Linked DNA regions of Homo sapiens: region 2 is linked to region 1. The links are contacts of gene promoters, found by promoter capture Hi-C in blood cells and fetal thymus (Javierre and others, 2016). All regions are on one chromosome and are shown on one strand. The core of a region is centred on a gene start or on the middle of the fragment in contact, and the rest is flanking DNA. Distances in the headings are between cores, read along the strand shown. Region 1 holds the start of GOLGA7B (golgin A7 family member B). Region 2 holds the start of MMS19 (MMS19 cytosolic iron-sulfur assembly component).

Region 1 (6,074 bases), core at 1,827-4,326:
GTTTGCTGCTCAGAAAATGGGCTCATTGCAGCTCTCCAAATGAGGTCAGTGTATCACTCAGGAGGCTCCATCCCTCCTCTGAGTTCCTTACAGACACCTCTCCCCTAATGCTAACTCCTAAACAGAAATTAGGGAACAGAAAAGACCCAGTTTCCACCCATGAATTTCTTCCCTCTCCCTCACCCCTCCCTCTCTGTCCCTCTCCCCACCCCCTTCCTCTCCCTCTCTCCTTCTCTCAATACAGCTTCTCCTAGAGCTGAGGAGTTCCTATTGAGAATCCTAACAGAATAATCATGGGAACTTAAAGCGATGTTTTCCCTCTCCCAACAAGTTTATCCTGGTAATCTCAACTCAATTCTAACAGTAAAAACAGCCTTGGGAGAATGACTCACCCCACAACCCAGAATACGTGCAGGTCCTGTGCCCTGGCAGAGCTAAGGCTTCCTGCCTCAGTTCTGCCATCAGAGTCCACCCAAGGCCAAATTGTGAAGTGAGGAATGTTTGTCCTCAGCTCCCCATCACTCCGGGACTTTCCTCTGTCCCTCTGCCCTCAAACCAACCCAGCCAGGCCAAGCAGGGGGCCTGAGTCCCCACACTCCAGCCCTTCATGACTTCCTTTGCATCCCTCTCTCCACCAAAGCTTCACATCAAGACCTGGAGGGCCCTCCTCTCTATCAGGTGACACAATAGGCTAATTGGATGCAGGAAAAAAAAGCACTGGCCAAAGAGGCAGAAGACTCAAGTTCTTATCCCATCCCTGCCACCTTTTAGCCATATTTTCCTGAATAAGTCTCAGCACTTCAGTTCCATCATCTGTAAAATGGGATAATGATGCCTTCTTTGGCTCCTTCACAGGGACCAGGCAAGTTTCTGAACCTTAGTTGTCTCATCTGTTAATTGGGCATAATAACACCATCCTTACCCACTTCATAGGGCTGCTCTGAGGCTTGAAAGAGATCACTTATGCGATAGTGCTTTGTACACAGGAAAGCGCAATATTTTCAGAGGCGTTATGAGCAGAGCCCCTCCCAGGGGAGAGTCACACATGTCTCATAGCAGCCTCCTGGAAACGCTGTCTTGACATAGAGATAGAAGCCTGCTGGTTGGAATCTGTGGGCCATGGCAGACATCCTGGGACAGATGGGCCTGTTGGAATCTGTCAGATCACATCGCAGAGGCAGCTGCCTTCTCTGCCCACGCTGCTGGCCCAGCCATGCCCATGTAGCTGAAGTTCCCCTTTTCTGTCCAACACAGCAGCCTCTGCTGCAGTCTGGCAGCCCTATCTGGAAGGTAACCAACTCCTTGGTTTCTCCCTTTGTTCTTCCTGCTGTCCTCCATGTCTTTGGTGCTTTGTGAGTACTCTGCATTCCTCTACTCTAGAAACCAAGCTCCCAGGGTCTGCCCAGGGCTTGCCCTCACACCAAGTCCTGAGGGGCAACTCTCCGCCTAGCTAACCTTGTGCCTTGTCAGAATGCCAAGCAATGCCAAGCAACAGCACCTTGTTCTGTGGTGGAAACTTGAGTGGAATAACAACAGCCACACTTGGTATTAATGTCACACTGCTCACCAGGATGCCCAGAAGCACTGCATTGAATCATTCACAGGCCTCTGCTCTCCCCCAGTGTATGCCAGCTGGATTGGAAATGGGGAGACACCACAAAGGAAGTCAACATCAGAACTGGGGAGACCCTGATGTCCTGAGTTTCGCTCCAAAAATTCAAAGGCAAAAACTTTCCGCTCTGCTGCTGACATGCTGTGTGGAGTAGCAAATTAGTCCTTTCGTTTTCCACACATCACCTTTATCATGTATAAAGTGGGAACATAAAGAGCCCAATCTCCCTCCTGAAATGAGGGGGGAAAGGGCAATCCCTAGGGGTAGAGGGGGGAATCCTCGACCTCAAGCATTATACCAAGATTCTGCCCTTAGCTAACAGGCCCCGTGGTTCAGCCTTCAAGTGCTTGAAGGTGACACACCTATCAGTGCACCTTGAAGAAGGCAGAAACTCCCATCAGATGGAGGGGAAATCTGGACACCCTGGGACAAAAAAAAAAAAAAAACTCGAATGGGGTAAAAAAGCAAGAAGGGTGATATGCAAAAGTGGAGACCAACCATTTGGGTTCTCAGCCTGAGGATGTCTTTGTCCCCTCCCTCCCGCAAAGGAAATGCGGATGTAGAGGTAAGTCTGTCATCCCTTAGCCAAGCTTTTGGGTTCAGAAGCTGACTGCATAGCAACAGCGGACAGCCGCCTTCCCTCCCCTCACACACGCACACACACGCGTCTCCAACCCTCTAGGAAAGCGGTTTCAGGACTTGTGAAGTCCAGGGAAGGGGAAACCCCAGCCTGGGGCCCTGAAGCAACCCTGGCGCTAATGCCAACAAGTGTCGCGGACAGCTTGGGGGCTCAGGTGGGGCGAGGGGAAGATTGACACGCAAGGGGGAGATGAGCCCTCACTAAGCCCCTACCTCCTCCCTCCAGACCTGACCTGGGGAATCACCCCATCCCACCCCCAACTCCCGCCTCCCACTCCTGCCCAGCCCACCCCTAGGGCATTTGGTCCCGCGGCAATCGGGCACTGCCTGCGGGTGGGGCGCTCGCCCCTACCTCGGTGGCCATGATCCGGGGGCGCTCGGAGGCTGTCGCGGGGCCGGGCGAGGGGGGTCTCCGCGGTGCTGACCCCGGGAGCAGGTGGGCGGCGGCGGTGGCGGCGAGCTGGGGCCCGGGGCGCTGTCCGCAGTGCTGATGCGGGCGCCGCGGGCCCGGGCTCAGGTGGGCCGGGGGCGGGCGGGCGGCTGGGTCCAGGCAAGGGGCGCGGCGCTGTCCGCTGTGCTGAGGCAGGCGCCGGGCCCGGGAGGCGAGGCCGCGCCCGAGGCTCCTCACGGCCCGATCGCCCGCTGCCGCGGCTCCTGCAGGCAACGGCCGGGTTTAGCTTTGGCGGCGGCGGCGGCGGGGATGGGGGCGGCCGGGGGAGGAGGGGCCAGGAGCCGCCGCTGGCCGGGAGGGGGAAGCCGCGGCCCCCAGACTCCGGCGCCGCCGGAGAGGAGCCCCGCCCGGGCCACAGGCTCGGCTACCGCCCCGCGCGAGGCCCCGCCTCCCCTTCCTGCCCTCCCCCTCGTGAGAGCCCCGGAGCTCTGCGCTCGCTTCCGTGGCCCCCGGGACATCCAGCCTGAAGGACAGTGGGGCAGGAATTTTTCCGGGGCAAGACGCTTCAGCCTGCAAGGCTGACCGCTCCCGAGCCGCTCGCAGGCCCGCAGGTGAGGCCTCTCTACCTTTCCAGCCACCCCCAGTGCCCCGGCTCTACCCCTCCCTCGCCCCGCCCCCAGCTTCCTCTTTAGAATAATTTCTTTTCTTTCTCTCCCTTTTCCTCTCTGTGTGCCCCCCCCCCATATACACACAGTCAGGCTTGCACGGACGGCCCCTCTTTTCCCCTCTCCTTTGCACTTCCTGGAACCCCACTAGCTAGACAAAGATCCTGCCGACCGCAGAGAATCATTTCCTTTCTTTAAATACGTGCCCACATTTCGTTCTCAGCCATAGCCTGGGGTCCCTTCTTTCAGGCAGCTCCAGAATTGAAGCCAGTCTCTCCTTGCTGCTCTTCCTGGACCTGGTCCCCACCCTTTACTCTTCCCTCTCTCCTCTGCAACCCGAGTTTACATACACGCACCACCACTACCACCACCACTCAAAAACCACAAGCAGATGGTGCCAAACCGGTATGCTCACTCTCCAAGGATGGCAGGTCTGGCTCTGGTGCCACCTTCGCACTTTTGACATCATAAATTCCAACTAAATGATCTATTTGTTTAATAAAAAGGAGACCAGGTGCAGTGGCTCACACCTGTAATCCCAACACTTTGGGAGGCTGAGGTGGGAGGATTGCTTGAGCCCAGGAGTTCAAGACCAGCCTGGGCAAGACCCTGTCTGCACAAAAAATGAAAACATTAGCCGGGCGTTGTGATGTGTGCCTGTGGTCCCAGCTACTCAGAAGGCTAAGGCAGGAGAATCACTTGAATCCAAGAGTTCAAGGCTGCAGCTAGCCATGATTGTGCCACTGTACTCCAGCCTGGGCAATAGAGCAAGAGCCTGTCTCTTAAAAAAATAAAAATAAGGCCGGAAGCAGTGGCTCATACCTGTAATCCCAGCACTTTGGGAGGCCGAGACGGGTGGATCACCTGAGGGCAGAAGTTCAAGACCAGCCTGGCCAACATGCTGAAACCCCATCTCCACCAAAAATACAAAAAAAAATTAGCCAGGCATGGTGGCACCCGCCTGTAGTCCCAGGTACTCAGGAGGCTGAAGCAGGAGAATTGCTTGAACCCGGGAGGCAAAGGTTACAGTGAACTGAGATCACACCATTGCACTCCAGCCTGGGCGACAAGAGCGAAACTCTGTCTCAAAAAATAAATAAATAAATAAATAAATAAAATAGACATAAAAAAAAGGAAACACCAACACAAGTGCCTTTTTACATACCCATAATACCCCTTGGTCTCTTTGAGGGGTGGTGGGGTGTGCTCCTCTGCAGCTCACTGCTGCCTGAGAGTCTGAAGCCCACACACAGGGAGAACCTGGCGGCCAAGAGACCTGGCCCAGGCTTTTCCAGCTGTATAACCTCGAGCAACTGTCTTGTTTTCTGAGCTTATGGTTCTCTTTCTGTAAAATGTGAGTGTTGGATTTCACTAGACTGTTTCTAGGACCTTTTGTTTTTTCTCCAACCTTTTATTTTGACATTTTTAAACATACCAAAATGTTGAAAGAATAGTACAATAAACTATGCCATCTACCTAGCTCCAACAATTGCTTTTTGCCACATTTGCTTTATTGATAGATATGAAAACAGAGCTATATTTGCCTAGATTATCAGAAGGTGACAGATATCGTGGCCGGGCGCGGTGGCTCACGCCTGTAATCCCAGTACTTTGGGAGGCCGAGGTGGGCGGATCATGAGGTCAGGAGATTGAGACCATCCTGGCTAATACGGTGAAACCCCGTCTCCACTAAAAAATACAGAAAAATTAGCCGGGCGTGGTGGTGGGCACCTGGGGAGCTACTCCCCAGCTACTGGGGAGGCTGAGGCAGGAGAATGGCATGAACCCAGGAGGCAGAGCTTGCAGTGAGCCGAGATTGCGCCACTGCACTCCAGCCTGGGTGACAGAGCGAGACTCCGTCTCAAAAATAATAATAATAATAATAATAATAAGGTGACAGACATCGTGAGGTTTTATCTGTAAGTACTTCAATGAGATTTTATCTGTAAGTACTTCAATTCACCATGCATCTCCCAAGAAGAAAAGCGTTATCCCAACTAGGCACAACACCATTCTCATGCTTTATTTTATTTTATTTTATTGAGATAGGGTCTTGCTCTATCACCCAGGCTGGAATGCAGTGGCACCATCTCAGCTCACTACAACCTCTGCCTCCTGGGTTCAAGTGATTTTCAGCCTCCCAAGTAGCTGGGATTACAGGCACGCACCACCATACCCAGCTAATTTTTGTATTTTAAGTAGAGACAGGGTTTCACCATGTTGGCCAGGCTGGTCTCAAACTCCTGAGCTCAGGTGATCCGCCCACCTCAGTCTCCCAAAATGCCAGGATTACAGGCATGAGCCACCGCACCCAGCCAATTATCATGCTTTTAAAATGCCCATATTATCTAATATTCTAGAACAGTTTGTCACCCCTAAAACACATTAATAGCGATGACCCCTCAAAAATTTTCCCAGAACTTTTCATTTTTAGTAGCTAACATTTAGTGAGCACTTACCATGTGCCAGCCCATATGCTACACACTTTACATGTATGATCTTACGTAATCCTCACAATTACTCTTTGAGTTGTGTTCTTGTGATCTTTTTATTATTCCCACTTTATAAATGAGGGAACTGAGTAAGTTGCCCAAGGTCATAGGGTTTGTGGGGAATGGAGACAGGATTCAGACATGGGCAGTCAAGCTCCAGAGCCTGTGTGGTTGATCCTCCTAACTGTATTGCCTCCCTCCAGCATCTGGTAGACCATAGACTAGCAGAGCAATGACCACATCTCCAGCTGCCTATTTTGCAGATGAAAACGCTG
Region 2 (6,404 bases), core at 3,479-5,978, 350 kb after region 1:
GAGGCCAGGAGTTTCAGACCAGCCTGGGCAACATAGCAAGACCCCATCTCTACAAAAAATAAAAAGTTAGCTGGGCGTGGTGGTGCACACCTCTAGCCCTAGCTACTGGGAAGACTGAGGGGAGAGGATCACTTGAGCTCAGGAGTTAAAGGCTGCAGGGAGCTATAACTGCACCACCATACTCCAGCCTGAGCGAGAGAACAAGACCCTCTCTCTCAAAAAAAAAAAAATATATATATACATATATACACACATATATATACGTATATATATACATATATACGTATATATACGTATATATGTATACACACATACGCACACACACACATATGAGTGACAATCACAAAACTTGATGAGACGAGAGGACCTCTCCCTTCTCCCTAATGCAAGAATCCCTGACCAGACAGTATTGTGTCTCTGCTTTGTCTACCAAGTGACTAAGAAGGCAGAACTAAGGACAAAGGGTGACATTACAAGCCATAAAGATTTCACCTCAATAACTTTCTCGCTTTAAACAGCTGCCTTTGTGAAGATGATAAAACAGCTCTAATGATCTTGTATAACCCTCCCCCTTTCTGAAATATTGAAAGTGTGACCCAGAAAGGTTAGATGACTTGCCCAGGGTCACTGAGTTATAGGCCCAGGACTAGAACTCAGGTCCTAGCTCCCTGTTGAGGCTTTCTTCCCATTACATTAGTGCCAAAGGAAGGTAAGAGTTACAGTGGCGCTGGGGGAGTTTTAGGCATTAGTCTTACAACGTAAAACTATGTCCTTGTCAAAGGAAAAGCCACAGATGTTACAGGAATGCCAGGTGCACTGTGGAGTTAAGAAGGATTCCTTCCCTTGTACCAAATTTGTCATCCTACAGAGTTCCCCTCGGCTTTGGACTTTATGAATAAAGCTATTCATAGTAGGACCCACAGAACTAAAGCAATGATAAACTAGCAGGTAAAAAAAAAAATGCAGATATATGAAAAATGCAGATGGTAGGATGAAGTTGAGTTTGCTTTCTAAAATCAACAAATACTGAGTGCTACTTCTGTACAACTCATTGTGTTAAGTGCTGAATGTGTGTGTGTGCGTGAGAGAGACATATACTACAAGGATAAGACAGAACCCAGGTCTTCAAGGCTTGCAATGTAGTTGCTGATAAAAGACTGTAAACATCAAAGACATGATTAATAATACAGAGTACATAATTGTTAAGTAAGTGGCATAGATAATGTGTCTGCAGGAGTTCTCAGAAGGAGCAATCACTTCCACGGGGTGTGTGTGGTGGGGTGCGGAGGGAGGGGGAAATGGCAGACTTGTCAGGCAAGGTGCTTCAAACAAGGCACGGCACTTGAAATGAACCCAAAGGATGAAAGACTCTCGATAAGAAGGAAATGGCACGAGCAAACACTGGTGGTCTTAATGTCAGAGAAGGGAAAGAAATCAGGACTTAAAAGAAAGGACTGGCCCACACTTGAACAGCCTTGAAAGTTAAAGTACTTGTAGGAGTGGGAAAATGCAGAAAGGTGTTTTGTTGTTGTTGTTGCTGTTGTTTTGTTTTTTTTTGAGACAGAGTCTCGCTCTGTCACCCAGGCTGGAGTGCAGTGGCGCAATCTCAGCTCACTACAACCTCTGCGAAACTTCCAGTTCAAGCAATCTCCCTGCCTCAGCCTCCTGAGTAGCTGGGATTACAGGCGCCTGCCACCACCATGCCTGGCTAAGTTTTGTATTTTTAGTAGAGACAGGGTTTTGCCATGTTGGCCAGGCTGGTCTCGAACTCCTGATCTCAGGTGATCCACCTGCCTTGGCCTCCCAAAGTGCTGGGATTACAGGCATGAGCCACCACGCCTGGCCAAGTACAGAAACATTCTGAACACAGAACTATAAAATCTGGAAGAAGTTAATTTAACAAATGTCTTCTGTGGGGACAACTGTGTGTAGGACTGAATGATGACTGAAGATGAAGTTGCCTTTGGGGGGTACCTCACTTCAGCCTGAGACAAGGGTTGACTTGAGGTGAGAAGGGTACAAAGTAGGGTGGCAAGGGGCAGGTTTGCAAGTCCCGCGGAAGGAAGACCCAGCAGACCCCAATGACTGGCTGAGAGGCAGGCGACAAGGAAGCAGAGAAAGTCATGAGAGAAAGAGCTCTTCACAGCCTAAAGTTAGGCAGCTGGAAGAACATAAGAGTAAAGAAGGAAAGCTGGTGGACAGGGAGCGATGCAGAGCCTGGTTTTGGAGGTGTTAAATCTGGGAATATCTATATCACAGTGTCCAGTGGGCATCTAGAGATGGGGTTCTGGGGTTCAAGAGAGAAGAGCTGAAGTTTAAGCATAGGGGTATTCCCAATGGACAAAGAGTTGTGGGACTGAACAAGATTTCTCTGGGAGAGAGTGTAATGAGAGAAAAAACAGAATGTCAAACTTAAGCACCAGCGTGCCCCCAAGCTAGAAGGTGATGGTGGAAAGGGGTGTTCAGAAAGGAAAACCAAGACAGTCTGATGCCAAGAAAGGAAGGGGGGGAATGTCTCGTAGGAGAGAGTTGTCAACAGCAAAAAATGCTGCAAAATCAATTATGGGGCCTGAACACATATTTGTTGAACAAATGAATGAATGAAAGCAAGCCAGCCCTTGGTTTTGAGAGTCATCTCTCCTCAGCCAGAAGAATGGCCAGAGTTACCTTCAGACAAGAGAATTTCAATAAGTTTTACTGCATCCTTCCCATAAAAACACATTTCTGCCTCCACAAGTCATCCTGTCCACCATGCAGACATCCTTCCCTGCTTCCCCTGGTTCCCCCATCTTCCTTCCCAGTTTCCGCAACCCAAGCAACACACCTTCGGTGTCAAGGGAGACAGGAAACTCCAACTAGAGTTTCCACTTCATTAACAACTCTGCCTGTGGCTCCTCTTACATAAGGGGATATGTGGCAATGGGGTGGGAGAGGAGGCTGAGTTCTAGCCCCAGGTGAGCTCCTAACTAGCTGTGTGACTTTGGACAAGGTGTTCAACCTCTCAGGATCTGGGCTTTGACACAGAGTAGGAGATGGGTCCATCTGGAATCCAGACAAGTTTGAGCTCTCAAGTCTACGATATTATTCCCAGCGGGTCCTTGCAACACCCTCAAAGAAGGAAGTGAGTGTAAGACCCAGAAAAATGACCGACAGACCTCTTCCCGGGGCGAAATGCCAGGGCAGGCGGGGTGTACCATGAAAGTGAGAAAGCGTTGCGCGGGCCTGGAGGATCACCAGCGAGCGATCTCACTCCCAAAGCTGGGAAGGATCCCAACAATCCCAAGGGTGACTCTCACCCCGCACCCCATCTTTTATAGACTCCCAGACGGCCGAGAGGCTCTAAAAACCCCTGCGGGAAAAATAAAGATTTCTTTCCCAGAGTCCTGCGCTGCTTTGCAAGTCGGATTCCCGCAGACACGATCTGCAGCTCGATAATGACACAGTCTTTGGAAGGAGCGACTGTTCTCGCCTCGCTCGCTCCGAGTTCTGGGGACGCCTGGCTGCCCGCGCCGTGCCCCGACGGGCCGGCGTCCGACCCCGGCCGGAGCTGCCAGGCCAGCGGCGCCCTCGCCCCCGGCCTCCTCCCGATCCGTCGGCCCCGCTGCGGTCTGCAAACATTTCCTGCCCCCACCCCCACCAGGAGCTACCCAGTTGGAGAGAGTTGGTCGCGCAGCCGGCTCAGTGCTCGCAGTTGCCCCAACTCAGCTCCCCCGGCCGCCCGGCGCTGGGGAGCGGCCCCCTCTGGCTGCGGAGCAGCCCATCGGGGAAACCCAAGCGCCAGCACCAGTGGGGAGTCCATCGGTAAGCCCAGGACTCGGGCGAGGAGGGGGACAACTGGCGGGATGCCCGAGGCCCTGCTCCCTTCCCCATCGTTACCTGCTCGCTTGCGGGGGTGTCCCGGGGCTGCCGGCCTCTCCCGGCGCTGTCTCCCCACGCAGTTGCCCATGCTGGCTCCTCAGCCAGTCCCCATGCACCGGAGGCGGCGGGGTGGTCGGCTGCTCAGCGGACGGCGGCGTCCCGGGTCAATGGCTCCGGCCGCCCGGCATCGGGCGCTCCCCGATCTCCCCCCGGGGGCGCGCTCAGCCCCAGCGATGGCTCCGCCAAAACTTTGCGGGCCAGGGGAGAGAGGGAAGTGGCAGACTCCCCAGCACGGTCCCAGGTGGCCGGGCCAGGGGGGCCCGCGACGGTGCCCGGCCGGAGACCAGCTCCGCTGGAGGGGCGGAGAGAGGGGGCGGGCACCGCCGCAGCTACTCCCGGCTCGCTCGGGGCACCAGGCAGGGGCCGGCCCCCTGGAGCCTGTCACTCACCTGCCTAACCCCGCCCCAGGCCGGCCCCTCTCCCTTCCGCCGGCTCGCGGTGCCCGCGCCGCCGCCACCACCCGCCCCAGGTGCGCATGTGACCGACAGCACCGCCCCCTAGGGCTGGGCCTGATTTTCTCATTGGCTTCCCCCGTGGTGCGTACCGCCCCTCTCCCCACCCAGCCAGGTGCCCGCCCCGCAGCCCGTCTCCCGGGGAGCCGGGCTGGGAATTATTCGCCCTCAATCGCCTCCGGCTGCGTGCCCAGCAGCCGCCTTCCCTCTCGGTGCCACCGCCCCATTTCAGGCCCCGCCCCTCCCTGGAACTGCCTAGGCAGAAGCCGGCAGGCACGTGACCCCGGCGCCCCGCCCCCTTGCGCTTCCCCGGAGATTGGCTCGGGAGGCGCATGCGCGGAGAGCCCGTCTCGAGCCACCGCCCATATCCCCTCCCACGGTCTCTAGTTCGCGTTATGGCCGCTGCCGCGGCTGTGGAGGCGGCGGCGCCTATGGGTGCCCTATGGGGCCTCGTGCACGACTTCGTCGTGGGTCAGCAAGAGGGCCCCGCTGACCAGGTGGCTGCAGGTACGGCAGACGGCGCCGCGCGCCTTCCGCATGGGGGCCAACAGGAGGGAGCGGCCTCAGTACAGGCGCCGGGCGGGAAGGGAGGAGCGGGGTGACTTTGAGAGATTGGTCTCAAGGCTGGTTAGTGAGCACCGCGAGGTTCAGAGCCGTAACAAGTTAGAGAGTTGCCTGTGTCTTCCTTAAAACCATTTACACTTCTCATCTCCCTGTAGCCAATTATAGGGAATCATTACATTTTACAGATGAGGAAACTGAGGCTCAGCGAGGGCAAGAGGACTTGCGCAGGGCTGCAGACCAGGCAGGAGGGGGAGGTGGGACTCGGACCCAGGCGTTCAGGTCCGAACCGGGTGCTCACGCCACGAAGCCATGCTGTTTGTGGGAGGTTGACGTGTGGAGGTGCATCCTCGCAGCGTCCGCTCCCGTCGCGTGGCATCCTGGGAGTGGCAGATGGCCCCGCGCTCTGACTGGCTGGAATTAAGAGGAGTTGAGGAGACGGGCCAGGAGGAGCTGGAGATGTTCTGGGTGTCCTCCTTAAGACTTTCTCTCCGTTTCTTGCTAAAGTTCTTGATTAGTTTGCTCCATGACGTTTTATGTGGCGTTTGTTTTTGTCTTCTTCCCAGACCCCCACTTTCCTGCTTTTGACCAGTTCAGAGATCTCTTAGTTCAGACAGCTTATCTAAAATTAGAATAAAACGATTTCCAGGCTTCCGTGGAGTTCTGAGACTTTGCTCTTCTAGGAAAAAAAAAAAACTACTAAAAAGTTATTGAATGTTAGGAGGCCTTCAGATCTTGGGTTTAAGTAACAATATAAAATTATCTAATGAGTAGTTTTTTTAAAAAAACTTTGGAAATTTCGTATGCTTGGAGAGAAGTAAGGACACATTTCTCTTGGATATTGAGCGTATTAACCTTTAGAATATGTAAGAAAAGAATAGTGAATCTGCTAGAAATATAATACTTTGTTCGTTAGCAGTATTCCACTTTAATTCAATCATGCCACTATTGTTGAATACATATTATTCCCCAAACATGATGCAAAGCAATAGGAATATAAATACAAATTAGGTTAGATCTGTGCCCACCAGGAACTTATAGTATGCTGGGAGAGGCAACCATTCTGTAAGAGGTGTGTGCAGCGTAGTTTGGAAGCATCAAGGAGCAAATACCTGGTGCTGCCACCAAACTTAACATCTTACAATTTTATGAAATGTAGTGTGTTATCAGTGTTTACAATTTACAAGTACAGTGTCTTACCAATGTCATTTTCCCTCATATTTTATTATGAAAATTTTCGAATATCCAGCCAAGTATAAAGAATTTTATAAGGAGCACATCACTTAGGATCTATCCTACCATTAACATTTTAATATTACTTGCTTTATCATATAGCTATCCATCCATTTAAATTGCAGATACCTGTACACTTTCCTTTAAATACTTTGGCATGCATGTCATTGACTAGAGTTTGTTGACGGTTTATTTTGATGTAAAATGGAATATATAAACCTTTAAGTGTACGTTCACTGA

The links. The method cuts DNA at HindIII sites, captures the fragments that hold promoters and counts their contacts. A CHiCAGO score of 5 or more calls a contact.
Region 2: a contact is called between the fragment with the promoter of MMS19 here and the fragment with the promoter of GOLGA7B in region 1, in 8 of 17 cell types (naive CD4 T cells, total CD8 T cells, naive CD8 T cells and 5 more). The highest score is 9.8, in naive CD4 T cells.

Annotation. Positions count from the first base shown.
Region 1 is chr10:97,846,845-97,852,918 of GRCh38, reverse strand. It overlaps GOLGA7B (golgin A7 family member B), which reads right to left and starts at 3,076. Exons shown (of 5, transcript NM_001010917.3): 1 at 2,604-3,076. The coding sequence starts at 2,615. It overlaps GOLGA7B-DT (GOLGA7B divergent transcript), which reads left to right and starts at 3,121. Exons shown (of 3, transcript NR_108035.1): 1 at 3,121-3,253. The HindIII fragment of the contact is 7,033 bases long and covers 2,205-6,074 here.
Region 2 is chr10:97,496,746-97,503,149 of GRCh38, reverse strand. MMS19 (MMS19 cytosolic iron-sulfur assembly component) reads left to right here and starts at 4,728. Exons shown (of 31, transcript NM_022362.5): 1 at 4,728-4,877. The coding sequence starts at 4,766. UBTD1 (ubiquitin domain containing 1) reads right to left here and starts at 4,226. Exons shown (of 3, transcript NM_024954.5): 1 at 3,877-4,226. The coding sequence starts at 3,946. RefSeq lists silencers at 3,607-3,806, 3,817-4,576 and enhancers at 4,817-4,986, 5,347-5,396, 5,073-5,603. The HindIII fragment of the contact is 10,400 bases long and covers 1-6,404 here.